Linked DNA regions of Homo sapiens: region 1 is linked to region 2. The links are contacts of gene promoters, found by promoter capture Hi-C in blood cells and fetal thymus (Javierre and others, 2016). All regions are on one chromosome and are shown on one strand. Each heading gives the region's core, a stretch centred on a gene start or on the middle of the fragment in contact. The rest is flanking DNA. Distances are from core to core; before and after follow the strand shown.

Region 1 (5,640 bases), core at 269-2,768, 430 kb before region 2:
CTGGTTTTGAACTCCTGGGCTCAAGCCATCTGCCTGCCTCGGCCTCCCAAAAGTGCTGGGATTACAGGCGTGAGCCACCATGCCTGGCCTGAAAAAAATTCTTTCAAGGGGGAAGAAGAGGTAGGAATCTCTACATTTGCTGGTGGACCTCATGCCAATGGATGAATCTGTGGTATTTCCCCACTCTTTACCTCATGCCACCACTTCCACAGGTAACGTGAGGATTGCATTCTCAACATCCATTACCAAGCAGGGTGTGCGACAGAGAGACAGAGAGGCAGACCTCCCACCAGTGAGTCAGTGATGGGGCCCTTGAGGCCCTGGGCAAACCTCTTCCTTTCCCCTTTCCTTGTCATCTCCCATTGACCCCGGCTGTGCCTGAGCCTTTCCCTGTCTCCTCCAGTGAGTCCAAGTTACAGCCAGTTCCTCCCTCTTCATGAGGACTGTGTGAGCACAGGCCCTACCCTCACTTGGCTTCAGCCTCCTCATCTGCAAATGGTGAGCTCCTCATTGGCAATTTGGCAGATTGAGTTAACATGGGTTACATGGGTTTGTCACAGGGGTCGGCCCTGAGCAAGGATGGGGTTAATGTCTGCAGACATTGTCATTAGTATTTGTACCACTGGCTCCTACATGCTACACTGAGGACTTGCCCTCCCTAAGGATAAGGATCCTATGTTTTCATCTCTCTGATACCAGGGCACCTTGTTCTACCCCTGTGAGAGAAAGGACCATCCTGCCTTCCTCACAAAAATATCCTGATATATGAGCAGCTCGGAGACCTAACCTTCTGGACAAAGACCTCCCACAAAAATGTTCAAAGATCTCATGCCTTAGGACAGTGCCCACAAGCAGTTCAGAGACCTCTCACCCTAGACACCAACCACCAAACAGCTCAAAGATGCCACACCTCAGGACACAGACCCCCAACCAGCTCAGAGAATTCCTACCTCAAGGTAACAGCTCACAATAACTCAAGGACCTCACACACCAACCCACAAAGAGCTTACCAGCTACACCCTGGTACACATACCCACAAAGAATCAGCTCAGGGCTGCTGTGTGATGCTGAATCTCTGTGCCATCCAACACTGTTATGGGGAGGCCTTGGATCTTGTAGTTCCCCACAGTCTGCAGTCACCACCGTTGTTGTCATGAGGAAGGCAGGTTCACACCAGGGATGGGGAAGGACCCTCTGGGACTGAGGGGATCAGAGAGTAAGCTCTCATATCTGGCTCCCAGGAATGGCCATCGTCTGACCAACCCTGATCACCTTTGGTCCTGGTGACTTTTGTATCTTGCCCCATGGGGGCTTCAGGGTAAATCCCAGAACACAGTAGGAGACCCCTAGACCCCGTTATCTTTGCCATCTCTCAGCACCCACTGTGGGGAACTGGATCTTGGAGAGAGAGTAGAGGTCCTCCCTTCACACTGCCAATGGCAACCCCCATTATGGCCCTTCTGAGCATTCTGGTCCTTTCTCCCAAACTTCCTCTCCAATTGGCAGCTGCCACACCTCCTCTCTCTCCCCAGCTCCCCACCCTTGTGAGCCACCAGGGCTCCCCTTCCACCACGGACCTCTACCTCCCTACCCCAGCCCTAGTCATGGGGCCTCAGTTATACCCTCTCACGCCCACTTCGGTCCTCTCACCCGGCACCTAGGCCTACCTCAGAGGACCCCCTCAGGACCCTCCCTGCACTTCCTGAAAGTGCAGACCATTTTGCAGGACAGATATCTCTCCTGCCCCCACACAGGTTTCTGTCACAACATCCCTGTTAGGGCAGAACTGGAAATGTCTCCCAGATCCAGATGAAACTCCAGACCCAGACTGAGAGTCCAGGGCAATTCGCCTAGGGCTGGAGGGGGCGGGGTGGGATTCCTGAAGGAGGCGCTGGGGTGAGTGTCACCTCAGGAGATGGGAGGACACTGCCCAGCTGGGTCTGTGAGGACAGAGAAGGGACCCTGGGAGGGACAGGGGCAGCATGAGCGCTGGGAGTGTCCCAACTGCGGTCCTCCGGGAATTGTCATCTGGCCCCAGCTCTGCCCCACCCTGGTTGGAGGGCCCCAGCCAGGGATCTGCCTTCTTGGCGCTCCAGTGTCCTCATCAGCGACAGAGGTGACAGGGCTTTCTTCCAAAGGTGCTAGTGGGGATTAAATGAGATGGCACATAAGAAAGAAGTGCTTGGGACACTGCAAGTCAGATCTGTGATGACCTAAAACTTAGAGCCCTGCGCACTGAGCGCCAGATGACCCCTTGCGAGTGGTCTCACTTAAGCCCTGCCTGTGACTTGGGAAGCATCTTTAGCCTCATACTGAACAACAGTCCAAGTCTTGAAGACTGGATCCCACTGGTCATCCAGTCCTTAAAGCCCAGGCTCCGCTTTACGAACTTCCGCCCATCAGCCACTGTGCCTGACCGTGCGCGAGCGCGAAGACCCAGGGACCCGGCTCTACGAGTGCATCCCGCTGTACTCTGTAAGAGCCGCACTCTCTAGGTGAGCTTCCCAGAGCGGTCCTTGATGCCTTCCTGCCTTGATCGTCCCACAACCGATCGACTGCCCCTTTGCAGGTTCCTAATTTATTCAGATCTGTAGAACGGAGACGGGCGTGGCCAAAAATGGGACTAGAGGGGTCTCCGAGAAGTCGGAGAATGGGTGTCAGCTTGGGCCTGGGTGGAAACCAGGAGGACGGATTGCCGCCTGGGGCGCTCGCCGCCGCGCCCGCCCTACTGTCGAAAGGTGGGGCTGATTTCGTTGGTGGGCGGGGGTGGGCTTTATTGTCCCTCCACACACAGCATTTGTATTCTTACAAAATAGAAGCTCCCTTCCCCTATGGTATCTCGCATAATGGTGTGTTCATTTCCGGTACCCGCAATGGTATGTTACATCCTCCACGCCTCATCCCCAGCTGCACACTCACAGGAGGTGAGATCCAAGAGGGGCCAGCTATTTCATACTTAGGTCCTGTGGATTACTCTAATGGTTCTCAAACTTTAGTGTGCATCAAGAATCACCTAGAGAGCTTGTTAAAACACAGATTGCTGGGCCTCACCTTTCAGAGTTTCTGATTCAGTGGGTCTGGGGAGGGGCCCAAGACTTTCATTTCTTTTTTTTCTTCTTCTTCTTTCTTTCTGTTTTTGCTTTTGAGATGGAGTCTCGCTCTGTTGCCCAGGCTGCAGTGCAGTGGCCGAACTCGGCTCACTGCAACCTCCACCTCCCAGGTCAAGTGATTCTCATGCCCCAGCCTCCGGAGTAGCTGAGACTACAGGCGCACACCACCACACCCGGCTAATTTTTGTATTTTTAGTATTTTTAGTAGGGACGGGGTTTTACCATGTTGGCCAGGCTGGTCTAGAACTCCTGACCTCAGGTGATCCGCCCGCCTCAGCCTCCCAAAGTGCTGGGATTACAGGCATGAGCCACTGCACTCGGCCAAGACTGCATTTCTAACTGTGCCCAGCCACTCTTCCACACAGCTAAGTAGACTTTTATTCCCACCTTCCTCCACTGTATTACTAGTAGACCAGCCCTTCCCCATCTTTTTCTCCCTCTCTCCCCAACAACACACCCAGATAAAGTCTTATCACCAGACCCTGAAGATCTTAAAGGGAGCAAAGGTCTAAGCATCGAGTCCACTGCCACAGAGCTCCTGCCCCATGAGTGGTGTGACTATGCCAGTCAACAAACTTTTCTTCTCCTGCACCACTGATGAATAACATCAGAGCAGCATCTATCAAAATGAAAAATCCTTATATGTAAGCCCTTAGAATGTTACATCCATGAGGGCAGGGGCATTTTCCTATCCAGTTTCCTCAGTCTCTCCAGTGCCCACCACACAGCAGGCACTCACTGCATGGTTGTTGAATGGCTGAACTCTTTTTCCCTAGCAATTCCACTTAAAAGAATGTATAATGAAGAAACATACACATAGCACAGAGCTTAGTATACAAGGAAGATAGTAGCAAACAATCAGGGAAAACCTCTAAATGTCCATTCATAGTCAGTGATCACTGGATGGTAAATGAACAATGAGAGACTTGTATTATATCAGGGAGCAGTCACTGGCCACGGAACAGAATGAGGGGACCAGACTATACTGGTCAAAGGAATCTTCTTCAGGACACGCTCTTAATGGGGGAATGTGGAAAAGTTCATAGTGGGACCTGGGGTGTGTGTGTGTGTGTGTGTGTGTGTGTTTAAACACAGAGAAATGTATTTGAAGAAAACAAGCAAACACCCAGATCCTCACCCCAGTGGTAAGCTGGGAAGGGAGAGAATGTGGAGGAAGGGGATGGCCTATGTAGTCCGTGTACTGATGTACTAATGGAGTCTTTTATTCTTCTTTTTTTGAGACAGGCTCTCACTGTGTCACCCAGGCTGAGTGCAGTGGTGTGATCACAGCTCACTGCAGCCTCAATCTCCTGGGCTCTAGGGATCCTCCCACCACAGCCTCCCAAGTAGCTGGGGCTACAGGCGTGTGCCACCACACCTGGCCATTTTTTAGTTTTTTGTAGAGACAGGGTCTCACTATGTTGCCCAAGCTGGTCTTAACTCCTGAGCTCAAGTGATCCTCCCACCTTGGCCTCCCAAAGTTCTGGGATTACAGGTATGAGCCACTGTGCCCAGCCTAATGGAGTCTTTTACACCAGGCCCATATTCGAGTATTATTTGAGTAACTATAAAGCAAAGTCATGTGATGAAAGCAATCCCTACACCACAGAGGAGTTTTGTGTGAGGGTATCTGGAGGGTGTCCAGGAATAGGGTTATCAAAGTTACATGCCCGAGGGGCTAGACAATGTGCATAAGAGAACCCAGCTCATCTCAATGTAAGGAAGATCAGCGCAATGAGTATGCTAAATGTTCCCTGCCAATCAGCCTCTGGAGTGAATACAAACAGAGAAATTGGAGCTGGTGCAGATCCCAGCTTCTCCTCCTCTTATTAGCTGTGTGACTGGGGATCATTCCCTTGCCTTCTGTGTGTCTCAGTCTTCTCCACTGTGAAACAGAGTCAATCCCCATAGATTGTAGTGAAGAGTAAATAAGGTGATCCCAGTAAGAGTTATATTGGCTGTGAAGTGAGTCCTTGGTTAAAATATATACACACACACACACACACACACACACACACGAGTTCTCTCAAGACCTGGCACAGAATAAATGTGAGATAAACATTAGCCAGTACTATTGTTTTTGTCTTTCGGAGTCTCCCTCTATTGTTCAAGCTGGACTGCAGTGGCGTGATCTCGGCTCACTGCAACCTCTGCCTCCTGGGTTCAAGCGATTCTCCTGCTTCAGCACCCCCCACCCCCACCCTGAGTAGTTGGAACCACAGGCGTCTGCCACCACACCCAGCTAATTTTTGTATTTTTAGTAGAGACAGGGTTTCACCATGTTGGCCAGGCTGGCCTTGAACTCTTGACTTCAAGTGATTTGCCAGCCTCAGCCTCCCAAAATGCCGAGATTACAGGCATGAGCCACTGCACCCGGCTGCTTTTGTCATTATTTTTTCCAGAGATGCTCTATTTTAATGGTCAGTTAACTCCTTTAATACTGATAACATCCCTGGGTGGTTGTTATTATTATTAATCACTGTTTTACAGATGAGTAAACTGAGGCACTGTTCATCAGCTGACTTAAGCT
Region 2 (5,353 bases), core at 216-2,715:
TTGCAAAAACATTTTTCAAATCAATACCTTCTTGATAAATTCACATGCTCCTGAAGATTCTTAATTGCTGTGGATCAGAGCACTAATGCAACCCTGTTGTGAGGCTGGGTGCAGTGGCTCACACCTGTAATCCCAGCACTTTGGGAGGCCGAGGCGGGCGGATCACGTGAGATCAGGAGTTCAAGACCAGCCCGGCCAACATGGTGAAACCCCATCTCTTCTAAAAATACAAAAAAAAAAATTAGCTGGGCGTGGTGGCAGGTGCCTGTAATCCCAGCTACTTGGGAGGTTGAGGCAGGAAAATCGCTTGAACCCAGAAGATGGAGGTTGCAAGGAGCTGAGATTGTGCCACTGCACTCCAGCCTGGGCAACAGAGCGAGACTCCATCTCAAAAATAAAAATAAAAAATAACCCTCTTGTGAGAATTATTGATAGGAAGATAAACTAGCTTTTTTGTATCCTTACCTGCTAAGATGATTTCATCAAGTTTCACTTTCTGTAGTTTGTTTCATGAAAACAAGTTTTTTGACTTTGTAAATATAAAATTACAAGGCACAAAATGCATTTTCAAACCATACATAACTCCTCCAGGAGATTGTTACGTCCAATCCCCATCCTCATTGTTGTGAATCCCAGCTTTAGAGAATCCTTATCACAGGTGGTCCCACAGTGCTTGAAGGCTCAGGCCAAAAGAGACAAGGAGATGGGTCTACCGCCCCCATAGAGGAGACCCTTATGGGAGGGACCCCCACAGGTTCCCAGGCCGGTGTTGGTGACCTCATGCACACCCTGGGAGAGGAGAGGTGACCCCACTTACGTCGGCTGGGGCGAAAACGCAGTTGTTTCCTAACTTCTTGGCTTGGGCCTCCCCACCCGAGTTGGGCAGGTCCAGAAGCACAGCAGAGGCTCCCTGCCCCACAAGTCGCTCCGCCGTGGCCAGGCCCAGGCCCGAGGCTCCTCCGGTTATTACCGCCACCAGGCCCTGTCAAAAGGGACATGGTCAGGGTCAGCTGTTACATTGCCCAGACCATCCCCACGCTGTCGCCTGCCTGTTCTCCAGGCTTCTGAGGAGAAGGGGGGAGGGGAGAGGTCGTGGTCACCCCTGCGGGTAAACTAGGTGTGCTGCTTCTCCTCAGCGTTGGGACCTCGGGGGCAGAAGGGATCTCATCCCCAGACAGCCCGTCCCGTGACGATAGATAGATAGATGATTGATAGATAGATAGATAGACAGACAGACAGACAGACAGATGCGCCGCGGAGTGCTGACTTTCACCTCTTGAGCCCAACGGCCACAATACCAGGCCTACATAAGCATGACCCTTTCCCTCGAAACCGATCTCTTTCTCCTAGTTCCACGGCCGCGCTGTCCCGGCCCGTAAAGGAAGGCAAGCAACAGAGGCAAAGAACCTTCTACCTTCACGCTCCGACACGCTGCTGCCATCTTGTCGCCGGCCACTCCACGGGATGGGGATGGGGGCGCGGGCGCTCGTTGATTGGCCGAGGCGAAGCGGCGGAAGGGGCGGATGCGACGGGCCGGGGCGTCTGCCGCTGCCGCATGAGACGTGGGGGCGTGGCCTGGTACGCTAGTCCTTTGGCCAGAGGGCGGATTCCGCCTGCTAAGGTATCCCCAGAGTTATTTCAACTGGGGAAAGAGACCAATAGCAGAAGTACAATACCACAACACCCCTCGCCCTACTCTCTAGCTGGCCTTTTGGCAAGTGGCCTGCTCCGCGTGGGGGAAGAGGGGTGGATATTGAGAACGGATGCCTTTCTCCTCTGAAAAAGTCTTAATTCAAGTATGAATGTATTTGAGACTCCTATATGCTAGACGGTGTGCGGGGCACCTGGGATACCCAGCGGAATAATAAAAGATTCATGCCTTCCAGGAGGGCACAGTCCAGGTGGAGAAAGAGAATTACAGTACAGACACAGACGAATGGACGGAACCAGATTCTGGGACACTCAGACAAGGAGATCCAAAGATGAGGAGTCTGAGTTAGAGAGAGAGAGAGCCATGTAAAGAGAAATATGTTGAGGCCGAGATAGGAAGAGAGATGCCAGGTAGGATCACAGAGAGATGAATGTGGAAAGCCGCTAAGAGAGATGCTTGGAGACAGACATTCTAGGACAGCTGCTGAGAAGCACAAACCTAAAGAGGCAAAAACATCTTTCATCAGTTCAGGCTTTGCTACTCTCCTCTATCTTTGTCTAATTTAAGTCCAAAAGCCCAGATCACACACTGCAGATTGGACTTCAACCAGAGACTATTATTTAAGACCCAGGTCTTTGTCATCCTAGAACATCTTTCAGGCAGCTTCCAGAAGCTATGTCATTAGAGTCTTGAGCCCAGATATCTAATCTGTCTTCCTTCTATACTTTTCCTCAAACCAAGGTCTTCAGGCCATAAATCTTAGCCCACCATTTCAGCCTCAGAACTGCTTTATGTTTTCTCTATCTGAAATATCTCCCCCCACTTGCTTTCTCACCCAGGAAGATTCCCCTCCAGGCCTTCTAGTTGTTGACAGCCACCACACTCATAATCACTACACCGTATTTACCAAAGGATTTAGCACACCGGTCTCACAATTTTCCTATCTACATGAAGTGCTTCCATCAATTTATAGCACTCTTCATCCGGCCCAATATGCTGTAGCCACAGTGGCCTCCTTTGTGTTCATCTTTGCATTAGCTGCTCCCTCTGCTTGGAATGCTCTCCCCTGATCTTTGCATGACTGCTTTTATTTTTTTTCATTCAGAACTAAGCTTAAATATCACCTTCCCAGAGGGGTCCTCCCTAAATATTCAAACTGTAGCCACCTAGACACTATCCCATTGCATATTTGAATTATCTTCATAGCACTTGCATGTCCGTAATCCATTTTCCAACCTTAGGGCCAGATGTGCTGTGGAATTCAGAGTTTTTTTCAATTTGAGAAAGGAAGACATGTAATTTATATTACATAACTCTTTAAAAAAACTAGTCAAACATAACTTTTTGTATAGTCTATATTATATAACTATTGAGAAAAGCCTGGAGCATCGTAATGAAATATTAATATTTCTGAAGTGAAAGGTATGAAAATTCACACCAAGTGTGAATAAAGACTATAAATAGCCTCACACTACTTCAGGTCAGGTTTTGTCATCTATTGAGTTTGGGCTCCAAAGTATGAAAAAACAACCTTATGCTTTTCAGAAGTTTTGGCATTGCAGGATTGTGCCTACAGGCTTGTGAGCCTGCATGCTCCGCTAACCTGGCCTTGTTTGTGTAGTTCTCCCCCTGCTGGAAGGTAAGCCCCATGGCACCAGGGGCTTGTCCAGCTGGTTCACCTAATGCCGAGAACACTGCTTGGCGTGTACAAGACACTTAAAACAAATGTGTGAAATAAATGAATTAATGAATTAATCTTGGAAGAATTTCCAGGCACAGTTTCATGATTCTTTCACCTGCCCAACTCCGGGAACCTTCACCTCCTCTCTACTTTAACCACCTGTCCAGGCCACCTTATTGCACTTGTCATTCCCTGGAATAACCTCCTGCCCTCCCCAGCATCTACACACCATCTTTTCTCTCTCTGACCATGTTCTCGAGTTGTCTTGGATCTCTTCCCCTCTACCGCTTTTTTTTTTTTTTTTGAGATGGAGTCTCCCGCTGCCCAGGCTGGAGTGCAGTGGCGCATCTTGGCTCACTGCAACCTCCGCTTCCTGGGTGCAAGCAATTCTCCTGCCTCAGCTTCCAGAGTAGCTGAAATTACAGGCATGGGCCACCACGCCTGGCTAATTTTTGTATTTTTAGTAGAGATGGGATTTTACCATGTTGGCCAGTCTGGTGTTGAACTCCTGACCTCAGGTGATCCGCCCTGCCTCAGCCTCCCAAAGTGTTGGGATTACAGGCATGAGCCATCGCGCCCAGCCTCAGCTCTATTATTTACTAGCCGAATGACCCTGGACAAGTTACTTAACTGATGTGCCTCAGTTTCCTCTTCTGTAAAATGAGTATAAACAAATGACTATTCGTAGGGTTGTTAGGAATAAATGAGTTAACAACTATGTATTTAAAAAGGACTTGGAACAGTGCTTGGCCTTTAGCAAGAGCTATATAAGTGTTAGCTATGGTTACTCTTCAGAGCAGTGTTTCTCATCCTTTTCTATGCTACGGACACCTATGGGAGTCTGGTGAAGTCTTAGGAACCCCTTCCCAGAATAATGCATGCGTCCTATAAGTAGGATTACAAAAGAAACCAATTATATTGGGGTACAATTTTCAAAATAAAAGGAAACGCACCTGTAATGTAGTAATATATGTGCTTCTTTATTAACACATTAAATAGCAAGCTCTATCAACAGGTCTAGTGACAACCATGATTTTTGAAATAGTGATGTTATTTTGAGAGATATGCAACAACCGTAATAATGAAAATCTGATCTCTCTTAGTGTCAAAGTCACAGGTGCTAATATTACTGCAGTTTGTTACCCACATCCCCTGGAAGGATATGCTATATTTCTGTTAGTAATAGTGAAAATAATGATGCAATTTCCCCTCTATCCAAGTCCATGGGCTCTTTGAATTCTATTCACTGACTCCTCAGGGGTCTTTTGGATTGTGGGTTAAGAACTGTGTTTAGAGGGAGCTCTCTGAACTTCTTCTGGTTCTGAGGGCTGCACAATTAAAAGAACTGTTTTTAGAGCAAACGGAAGCCATTAGTGAATACTTCTCTCTTGCCACCTCCAAAATTGTCTCTACCCACCCACACCATCCTTTCCTTGGGTCTCAGAGATGTCCTGTTTAGGGCTCACCCTTCCACTGGGTTTTGTGTCCCAGCCCCTCCCACTTTCTTGGGGATTTCTGCTACTGAGCATCCTCTCTCTTGATTGCACGCACCTCTGTCTCAAAACCATTAGAAAATAGGGAATAGGGGCTGAGTGCAGTGGTTCACGCCTGTAATCCTAACATTTTGGGAGGCTGAAGCAGCAGGATGTCTTGAGCCCAGGAGTTTGAGACCAGCCTGGGCAACATAGCAAGACCCTGTCTCCACACACACAAAAAAATAGGGAATAAAGTGATGTCAACCTTTACACGCACATACTCAACAGTTTGGATGCATGTCTCATGGGAACCTGAGGGCCAGAGGTGCGCAAAGGGGCCCAGCAAGGACACCAAAACAAGCAACACGCAGCATTGTGTCAAATTAGCCCTGCCAGGAAACAGAGAAGAATAAAGGTGGTCTTTACTCCTGGGTGGTCTTCACTCCTGGGAGATAAAAACCACAAGATAACCCATTTAACTCTTGTGGGCACCTGCAGTTACCTCTGCAAAGACAGAGCTGCACTGGTTCCAGCTGGCTCTGAGGT

The links. The method cuts DNA at HindIII sites, captures the fragments that hold promoters and counts their contacts. A CHiCAGO score of 5 or more calls a contact.
Region 1: a fragment that was not itself captured here is called in contact with the fragment with the promoter of HSD17B10 in region 2 in 3 of 17 cell types (fetal thymus, total B cells and naive CD4 T cells); the score reaches 8.1 in fetal thymus.

Annotation. Positions count from the first base shown.
Region 1 is chrX:52,998,152-53,003,791 of GRCh38, forward strand. No RefSeq gene overlaps it. Among named protein-coding and RNA genes, the nearest start is that of FAM156A, 42 kb to the left of the region's middle. The HindIII fragment of the contact is 8,235 bases long and covers 1-5,636 here.
Region 2 is chrX:53,432,905-53,438,257 of GRCh38, forward strand. HSD17B10 (hydroxysteroid 17-beta dehydrogenase 10) reads right to left here and starts at 1,466. Exons shown (of 6, transcript NM_004493.3): 1 at 1,415-1,466; 2 at 818-982. The coding sequence starts at 1,441. The HindIII fragment of the contact is 11,572 bases long and covers 1-2,761 here.